Linked DNA regions of Homo sapiens: region 2 is linked to region 1. Evidence: promoter capture Hi-C in human tissues and cell types (Jung and others, 2019). All regions are on one chromosome and are shown on one strand. The core of a region is centred on a gene start or on the middle of the fragment in contact, and the rest is flanking DNA. Distances in the headings are between cores, read along the strand shown. Region 1 holds the start of C1QA (complement C1q A chain). Region 2 overlaps ZBTB40 (zinc finger and BTB domain containing 40).

The links. The method cuts DNA at HindIII sites, captures the fragments that hold promoters and counts their contacts. A contact is called where the count stands out against the background at its distance.
Region 2: a fragment that was not itself captured here is called in contact with the fragment with the promoter of C1QA in region 1 in 2 of the 25 tissues and cell types used here (adrenal gland and mesenchymal stem cells).

What each region holds. Positions count from the first base shown.
Region 1 is chr1:22,633,021-22,637,877 of GRCh38, forward strand. It overlaps C1QA (complement C1q A chain), which reads left to right and starts at 3,608. Exons shown (of 3, transcript NM_015991.4): 1 at 3,608-3,682; 2 at 4,590-4,759. The coding sequence starts at 4,597. It overlaps MIR6127 (microRNA 6127), which reads right to left and starts at 346; the gene lies at 238-346. The HindIII fragment of the contact is 11,741 bases long and covers 2,605-4,857 here.
Region 2 is chr1:22,486,832-22,491,688 of GRCh38, forward strand. It overlaps ZBTB40 (zinc finger and BTB domain containing 40), which reads left to right. Exons shown (of 18, transcript NM_014870.4): 2 at 3,049-3,814; 3 at 4,569-4,702. The coding sequence starts at 3,118. Among named protein-coding and RNA genes, the nearest start is that of ZBTB40, 37 kb to the left of the region's middle. The HindIII fragment of the contact is 3,163 bases long and covers 330-3,492 here.

The DNA.
Region 1 (4,857 bases), core at 2,358-4,857:
TGGACAGATCACCTGAGGTCAGGAGTTTGAGACCAGCCTGGGCAACATGGCAAAACCCCGTCTCTACTAAAAATACAAAAATTAGCTGGGCATGGTGGTGCATGCGTGCCTGTAATCCCAGCTACTTGGAAGGCTGAGGCAGGAGAATCTCTTGAACCCAGGAGGCAGAGGTTGCAGTGAGCTGAGATCCAGCCACTACACTCCCACCTGGGCAAAAAAATGAGACTCTGTCTCAAAAGAAGAAGAAGGAGGAGGAGGAGGAGGAGACTGGAAGGGATGTTAGAGGCCATTTGGGGCAGCCTTCCCACCTCCCACCCACTCCCTCATCTTGGTAGATGGAGAAAGTGGGGTTCAGAAAGATGAGATAACTTGCCCAGGGTCACACTGTGAGTTAGGTATGGGCTGAGCAGATGAGATTCCAGCTCCACGAACTTTCTGAATCCAGGGAGCATGGGAGGGGCTGTCAGGGGGAGCTCTGGGCCCCCACCCTTCAAGCCAGTATCCCCATTTTTATCTGTTTGACATACATCAGATGCCACACAAGATTGCAAATGAAAAAGAAGTCCCCAAAGCTCAAAAACCCTGGCTCTAGACCATCCTTCATCTGCCCACTTCAACAGCCTTCCCTTATCTCCTCCCTCCTCCTCCTCTTTTCCTCCTCCTGCCTCTGGCAAAATTTTCAGAAAACAAACAAACAAACAAAAACATGCTCATGAGAAGAAGCAGACAGATGTGGTCAGCCCAGGCCTGAACACATTGGTCTCCAGTCTGGGAGAGACAGAGCCTCTCTATCTAAAGAAAAGCATTCTCAGGGTCCAAGCTGACAATGATGCAGTGTGCCGTGCTGACAGGTAATGAGCATCCCATCAGTTAAGGTGAGTAAGGCTAGATGATCTGTTCAAACACTAGCAGCAATTGTCTCTAGATGGTAGAATTCACAGGCTTTTGTTGCTGGGTTTTGTTTTTTGTTTTTTTTTGAGATGGTGTTACAGGATCTTTGGGGTGTCATTTTCTGGCCGGAAACCTCTGTGGCTGGTGGCACCTTTGCCCAAGTTTTGCTCAGGCCCACTGGGCTTGTTTCACTCACTCCTCCTGGCAGGCAGCACTCAGCTCACATTACCAGCCTGGGTTCCACATCTGCCCAGGGCAAGTCAGGCATGGAACAGTGAAGGGTGTGTGAGTGAACATGGGGTCTGGCCACTGCACACAGTCAGACATGCCGGCTGCTGCAGCGGGGTGAGCAGCTCCAGGTGCCAGCATGGGCGCCAGCTCTCTGAGAGGTTGTGGCTAGACCAAGTACACCACAAGCAGCTTCCACAGCTGGCACCGGGGAACACGGTGGCACCCAGAAGCTTCGAGATGCCAGGAACCACAGGGCCCCGAAAAGGGAGTCACAGCTCCAGCTTGGGGAGCTCCCAGGTCTGGGTTCCCCAGAGGGCCGCAGCTCTTCTTTCCTTCCCTTCACCTGCATCATGGCAAGCAAGGGGCATGTTTCAGCCTTGTTTGTGTTACAGCTCTTTCAGCCCCACCATTTGATGGGTCCCAAGTTCTTATCCTGCAACCAGGAAGAATGAGGTATGCAGACAAGTGGGGAGTGAGCAAGACGAAGAGGAGCTTTACTGAGCGATAGAACAGCTCAGCCTCCTGCAGAGCCTCCCTCAGGGGGCAGCTCCTTTCCACAGCCAGGGTGTCCTGATGAGTGTTCAGCTGCTAGCAGAGAGGAGACCCTGGAATGGGAAGCTCCTCTCTGCAGGCAGGTCATCCTGTCGACTTTCCAGCTCTCAGAAGAGGGAAGACCCTGGAATGGGAAGCTCCTTTCTGCAGGCAAGTTGTTCTGCCATCTCTGCAGCTCTCAGCAGAGAGGAGGCCCTGGAGCGGGTAGCTCCTCTCGGCAGCTGGTCATCCAATGTCTGCCCAGCTCTGGCTGAGCCTGAAGCTTTCATGAGCCTCAGAGAGGAGGAAGTGCATACTGATTGGTCCATGGGTGGCTATAGGCAAGCCCAGAAAATACACCATAAGTTCCCACTCTGGTGTGTGGGACTGGCAGCCTGGCCCCCAGCCTTGAGGCCCTCCCTGGCTTGAAGGTAGGGCCTCACCAGGGACCCATCCCCTTCCACCCAGGAGCCTGTCTGTCTCCTGCTGCTGTTCATGGTGCCCAGGCTGTTCATGCCAAGGAGCGTCTGCAGGCCAGTGCCGAGCTGCCCTCAGTTTCCCCTTGGCTTTCCTTCCATGCTAGTCAGTGCCCAAAGTCCAGAGGGGGCCAAGGCAGCAGGGGTCTAGTGTGTCAGCACTGCCCCAAGCATGCCCACACCCAGCCAGGCTGCGACAGCACCCAGGCTCAGCACCAACTTTGCTCTAAGATCAGAGTGGGCGCCAAGAGGAGGGAGAAGCCAGGCAGTGGGAGCAGACACTTCTGAGCCTGAAGGGTGGGGCGGGGGGCCTTCCCGGGCCCCCAAGATTGCAGGGATGCCTGGGTCCACAGCTGCAGTTTAGGCAGCTGCAGCTGCATGGGGGATGGCGGGGGCCCCCACCTGCTCCATGAAGCAGGATCAGCTGTGGTTTGGCAGCTGCAGTGGTTCCCAGGAGGGCGGGGTTCCCACTGTCCCCAGCTCCCACTGGCTACATGGAGCATGCAGCCCTGGCCGTGCCTCCCTGCTGCAGCCAGTGTGATGACAGCAGCCATTCCAGACGGCCCGCCATTGCCATCTCTTTTTTTTTTTTTTTTTTTTGAGATGGGGTCTTGTTCTGTCTCCCAGGCAGGAGTGCAGTGGTAAGATCAAAGCTCACTGCAGCCTCAACCTCCTGGGCTCTAGCAATCCTCCCAGCTCAGCCTCCCAAATAGCTGGGACTACACAGGTGCATGCTACCACACCTGGCTATTTTTTAAATTTTTAGTAGAGATGGAGTTTCACCATGTTGGCCAGGCTGGTCTCGAACTCCTGACCTCAAGTGATCCGCCTGCCTTGACCTCCCAAAATGCTGGGATTACAGGCGTGAGCCAAAGCACCTAGACTTGCTGTTTTTTTAAATGTTGGCAAAAGCTAGTGACTAAGTGTTCACCATGTGCCAAGTGTTTTGTATGTGCAAGTCATTAAAATGTTATAATAATCAGATGATATAGGACCCCGTTCCCAGTGTACAGATAAAACTGAGGGCTCAGGAGGTCAAGTAATTTCCCAAAGACATGCAACTAGGAAGCAGCAAGTCTAGAAACAGATTGCTGTGCTTCCTTCTCACCAATGCACTGTTCTTTCTTCTTTGTATTTTCCAAGCTTTTGGCAATGAATTGCATGTCACTTTCATAATCATGAAAAGTCCTACAAGGGACAGATTTTTTTAAAGATTCCTTCCGCTCTGGTGTTCTGTGCTTCGCTGGTTCTCAGAACCTCACCCTGCACGGCCTCCACCCCACATCCTCACAGGCACTGGCCTCACTGCCCCCACTCCCACACCAGCTGTTGCTGGGGCAGGACGCCCAATGTCCCAGTCTTGCTGAAGTCTGCTTGAAATGTCCCTGGTGAGCTTCTGGCCACTGGGGAAGTTCAGGGGGCAGGTCTGAAGAAGGGGAAGTAGGAAGGGATGTGAAACTTGGCCACAGCCTGGAGCCACTCCTGCTGGGCAGCCCACAGGGTCCCTGGGCGGAGGGCAGGAGCATCCAGTTGGAGTTGACAACAGGAGGCAGGTGAGGCCAGAGTCCCAGAGGGAGGGGGCTGCAGAGTTCTGGGACCCAGGGGAGCTGGCCCAGGAGGCTGGGCAGCTGAGGCAGGGAGGGAGGGAAATAACTGTGCCTGATTCTAGGACAGGGATGGGGGTGCAGCACTGATCCAGGACCCAGAATGGGTGAGTGGAGGGACCTTAACTCCTTGAGCCAGGGCTTGGGGGAGGGTGAGAGGCGATGAGTTAGACCTAACAACTGAAGGGTAAGACCAGGGTTCCTGGGTCCTGGCCCCATAACACATAAGAAACCAGGAAAAGCCTGGGGTGCTAGAGCTGGCAGTGGGACCCAGCAGAGGGGACTGTAGGGGCAGCCAGTCACCCATGCTCAGGTGGATGCTGAAAGGCGCTGAGCATGCAGAAGAGTGAGCAGGTGTCGCTTTGGGCGTTTGTGAATTCCTGTGTGTATGCAGAGCTCCACCATCTGGGTGAGCCAGTGTTAATTAAATAAGGAGCAGGCGCTCAATACATATTTGTTCAATGAAATCGATTACCTGTGGGAGTGTATGAATGTGTGTGTCCGTGCAAGTGAGGGACAGGGTCTATTTGGGTATCAGTTGTGTGTCTAGGGGGGTATAGTGGATTTCTGAGTTTGCCTACTGTGTTTTGTAGGTGCGTGGATGAGAGCTGTGTTTGTGTGAGTGTGTGAAGATGTGGGTGTGCTCTGTTGCATGTGTGGATGTGTGTGAGTTTGTGGTTCTGTGTATATGCGTGGGGTCCTGGGGCTGGATTGAGAGTGGACATTGAGAGCCCCAGAGGGTGCATGTGCACTTGGGGAGGACTGTGCATATATCATTGTGTGCATGGGACTCAAGGGTGGGAGCTGGGTGTGAGTGTGATGTCCAACCTGCCCAGGCCCTCCCGTGTCTCCACAGAGGCATCATGGAGGGTCCCCGGGGATGGCTGGTGCTCTGTGTGCTGGCCATATCGCTGGCCTCTATGGTGACCGAGGACTTGTGCCGAGCACCAGACGGGAAGAAAGGGGAGGCAGGAAGACCTGGCAGACGGGGGCGGCCAGGCCTCAAGGGGGAGCAAGGGGAGCCGGGTAAGCACCCTTCCTCGGGACCCAGCCCCTTGGACCTTGGCCTGACTTGGCCTCCAGGGTGAAGGCTTGGGGTGGCACTGAGAATCAGGAGTCCGTCT
Region 2 (4,857 bases), core at 661-3,160, 150 kb before region 1:
TTCAAGTTATTCTCCTGCCTCAGCCTCTGAATAGCTGGGGTTCCAGGTGCCCGCCACCATGCCTGACTAATTTGTGTAATTTTAGTAGAGACGAGGTTTTGCCATGTTGACCAGGCTGGTCTCGAACTCCTGACCTCAAGTGATCCGCCCGCCTCAGCCTCCCAAAGTGCTGGGATTACAAGCGTGAGCTGCTGCGCCTGGCTTGTGTTTTTTGTTCAATAAGTTGTGATTCTCTGTGTCTGCCTGTCTGTCTCTAATTTTAGGAACAGTGATTTGCCCTGTGACCTTTCTTTTCTGACGAATTAAAGAAGAGTTGTTGATTTTTCAGTTTGTTCAGTCTGTTTGCTTTTAGGACGTGGTGACTTCTAAGCTCCTGACATACCAGAATGGAAACTGGAACTCTGAAATATTTTTATTTATATTTTTATCTGTCAATTTCAGTGTCAGTAAATGTAGAAATGGTGGAGTGGAAAGAGAATCATCCATAATCCTCTAACAAAAGCAATTACTGGTTTTTTGACATATGTCTTTCCGCCCTTTTCTTAGCGTACTTTTTTCTTTTACAAGTGAGATTACATAATTTCCTCAAACATCCTCAAAGATAAGATCCTCAAACCCAAAACTGAACTAGATGTCTCTTCCCCTAAACTGTCTGTTCTTGTATTATCTGGATCATCTTATCATCCACCCATTCACCAAGCCAGGAACCTGGGAATTGTTTCTCTCTGTCCTTCACATCCATTCAGTCCCTAAGTCATGACAGCTATACTTTGCAATGTTTTTTTGGCTCTCTCCTATTACCAGTTCTCCTGCTTGAAGCCCTCATTGATTTTCTCCTGATCTCCTGCAATAATAGAGCCCGTCTCCAGCATTATCCCCCTCAAATTCTGTACACATGTTACTTAGGTGGTATATTTAAAATGCATATCTGACCACATGACTTTGCTGCTTAAAGCCTTTCAAATGCCTCAATGGCTGCTCATTGCTTTTAGGATAACCTCCAAGCTCGTAAGCATGGCCTATATATCCCTCTGTGGCCAACACCCCTGCCTGCCTCTCCAGATTCATCTCTTAACACTCCTATTCCCTGCTTTATGTTCCAGTAATAATCTCAGTTCCTAATCCTCCTGCCTGCTACCACGGGATGTTTTCTTATCTGCATGCCTCATGCAGGCGTCCCTGCCAGGATTGCCTTTTCCTCCCATTCTTTTTACCTCATCTGTGCGTCCGTATCTTTTAAGACACAGGTCAGCTGTTTTTCCCTCAAAGCTTTACTCTAACTCCTGGACTCTCCTATCCCCCAAACTGTGTTTGTGTGTACAAATCCATCATTATGTTGCCTTTTAGTTATTTATTCATTCTACCAAGTAATCAACAGTATTTGTGTTAAGCAGAATTTTAAGCACTGGGATACAGCAGGTGATAAAATTAAGTTCTTACCCTAATGGAGCTTACATTCTAGTGAAGGAAGATAGATAATAACAAATAAAAATATAGTATGTCAGTAGGCGATAAGTGCTATGCTGAAAAACAAAGCAGACGAAGGAGCGGGATGTTCTGAGGTTGGAGGGGAGGTTGCTTGTTGAAAAAACATGGTCAGGAAAGGCCTTACTGCTAACATGGCCTCTGAGCAAAGGGCTGGTAGAAATGAGCCAGCCAGCCAGGCACAGATATACTAAGCATGCTCAGCCCTGAGTCAGAGAACGCAGAGCATGCTTAGTATATTCCCAGGTCAGCAAGGAAGGCAGAGTTCTCAGAGCAGAATGGGTGAGGGGGAGAGTGAGTGGTAAAAGATGAGGTTAGGAGCCGATGACAGCCAGATCATGATTAAAGGCTTGCTAGGCCATTGTAAGAACTTTGACTTTTACTCTAAGACTGGAAGCCATTTAAGGCTTTTTGTGCAAAGCAGCAGCAAGATCTGGCTGTGTGTTAAGTAGATTGCTCCGCCTACTGGGTTGAAGATAGGATGAGGTAGGGGTAGCAGTAGGGGAGGATGGAGGCATGGAGGCTAATTAGGAGGTTGCTGCAGTAATCTAGGTAAGAGATGATGGCAGTTTGGACTGACTAGAGAGGAGCCAGTGAAGGAAATTAGCGGTTGGATTTTGGATATGTTTTGAAGGTAGAGCCAACAGGATTTATAAAGGATTGGATATAGCGTATGAGAAAAAGCAAAAGTCAAGGATGACTTGGTTTTAGTCTGAAGAACTAGAAGGACAGAATTGCTGTGAGGTGGGAAAGTGGCAGGAGAGTTTTGGATATGTTACGTTTCAGAAACCAGGTTCCAGTTGGAGATGTTGAATAGGTAGTTGGAGGTCTACATCAGGAGTTCAGAGGAACAGGCTGAGCCAGAGACATAAATCTGAAAGCTGTCAGCATTTAGATGATATTTCAAAGCTATGGAATCAGAAGAGAGGGAAGGTAAGAGGCGGGATGACTGGGTCCTCGAGCACTCCAAGCTTTAAAGGCTGCGCTGATGCAGAGGACTCAACCAAGGAGACTGGGAAGGCATGGCTAGTGAGTGAGAAGGAGAACCAAGTGAAAAATGTATTTTCAGAGGAAGAGAATGATGACCTCCGTCCCTTGTTAGGGCTAGACTGAATAAGCCAAGGACATTGTATTGTAAGTCTCCGTCTACATATTTATCTCCTCTAGGTGGCTGAGAGCTTTTTGGGAGCAGGAATGGTAGTGTAGTTAGAGCTTCGAAGTCAGTGAGATGGCTGTTTTTCCTTAGGGTGATTCTCTTGGTCCTTCAAAGCTCCAATCTCATCTGTAAAATGGGGAGGAAATAATATCTTTTCCACTGAATCGTTGTGAGAATCAAATGAGACCGTCCATACAAAGCATTATGCACAGTCTCTTTCATATATTTAAACACATAATGATAATGATCATTACTGATTTAGTATACCTGGCATACTGTCCCTTCCTATTAAGCAATATTTGTTGGATGAATGAGTGAAATGCCTTTCTGTTCATTTAGCGTTTCATTCAAGGCCTTTCCCTATGGTTTTTTGAAGTTTTAACCTGGTATTTTGTGGGTTTCTCTAGGGCCTGTCCTCCCAAAGCCAACTCTAAGGAGAGGAGAGGAAGAGCAGTTCTTGGGGCAGAGTTGACGCAATGGAGCTCCCCAACTACAGCCGGCAGCTGCTGCAGCAGCTGTACACTCTGTGCAAGGAGCAGCAGTTCTGTGATTGCACCATCTCCATTGGTACCATTTACTTCAGGGCTCACAAGCTTGTCCTGGCTGCTGCCAGCCTCCTGTTCAAAACCCTGCTGGATAACACAGATACCATCTCCATCGATGCATCTGTGGTGAGCCCCGAGGAGTTTGCGCTCTTGTTGGAAATGATGTACACGGGCAAACTACCTGTGGGCAAGCACAACTTCTCCAAAATCATCTCCTTAGCAGACAGTCTACAGATGTTTGATGTAGCTGTTAGCTGCAAAAATCTTCTGACCAGCCTTGTAAACTGCTCGGTTCAGGGTCAGGTGGTAAGGGATGTCTCTGCGCCATCCTCAGAGACATTCAGAAAGGAACCAGAGAAGCCTCAAGTAGAAATCCTTTCATCTGAAGGTGCTGGAGAGCCTCATTCTTCCCCAGAGCTTGCTGCCACTCCAGGGGGCCCTGTGAAAGCTGAGACTGAGGAAGCAGCCCATTCAGTTTCACAAGAGATGAGTGTGAATTCTCCCACAGCCCAGGAGAGCCAGAGGAATGCAGAAACCCCAGCGGAGACTCCTACTACAGCTGAAGCTTGTTCCCCCTCCCCTGCTGTGCAAACCTTTAGTGAGGCAAAGAAGACAAGCACAGAACCAGGTAACAGTCATTGTTTTATATTCCATCCTTCTGTTTTCAATGATCTTTATCAGTTTTAATGTTTGATTAATAAATTTATCAAAGACCACTGTTAGGTAGAAAACCAAAATTCAGTGCAGTACCGTACTGGGCCATTCTTTTAAAAGTGTCTGTGTTTTTGAACATTGAAAGTCCAAACATGAACTACAGAGCAGAAAAGCAGTATTGGAATAATGACGTACCATTTCGATAATTATCTGTTTCGTTTTGTTTTGTTTTGTTTTCTCTCGAGACGGAGTCTTGTTCTGTTGCCCAGGCTGAAGTGCAATGGCATGATCTCAGCTCACTGCAACCTCCGCCTCCTGGGTTCAAGCAATTCTCCTGCCTCAGCCTCCTGAGTAGCTGGGATTACAGGCATGTGCCACCACGCCCAGCTAATTTTTTGTATTTTTAGTGGAGATGGGATTTCACCATGTTGGCCAGGCTGGTCTCGAATTCCTGACCTCATGATCCACCCGCCTCAGCCTCCCAAAGTGCTGGGATTACAGGCGTGAGCCACCGTGCCCTGCTGATTATCTGCTATTTTAACCAGGCTGAGGACAGCACAAAGGAGGAAGCTGTGAGAGATACTGTTGTCTGTTATTCATAACTGATGTGCTAGACAGAGATCAGTTAAGTGCAGTATATGACCTGAAGGTGCTCAGACAGCTTAAACTTGTAAAAATTTATTTCAAGTAATGAATTTCTGATTTGTTTTATTTTGTTCTACATTTAGGATGTGAAAGGAAACACTACCAGCTGAATTTTCTTCTAGAAAATGAAGGTGTCTTCTCAGATGCACTCATGGTTACCCAGGATGTTTTAAAAAAACTAGAAATGTGTTCAGAAATTAAAGGTCCACAGAAGGAGGTAGGCACCTCTGACTTTTGTACTTGTTTGCTAGTTTAGTGTTCTCAGGATACCTTACTAACTTTTTATATGGGGCAGAAATAGCCCAGGGTTTCAATGTTTTGAAACTTTAATTTTTTTTTTTTTTTGGACATTTATTCCCTAAAGGGCAGTCT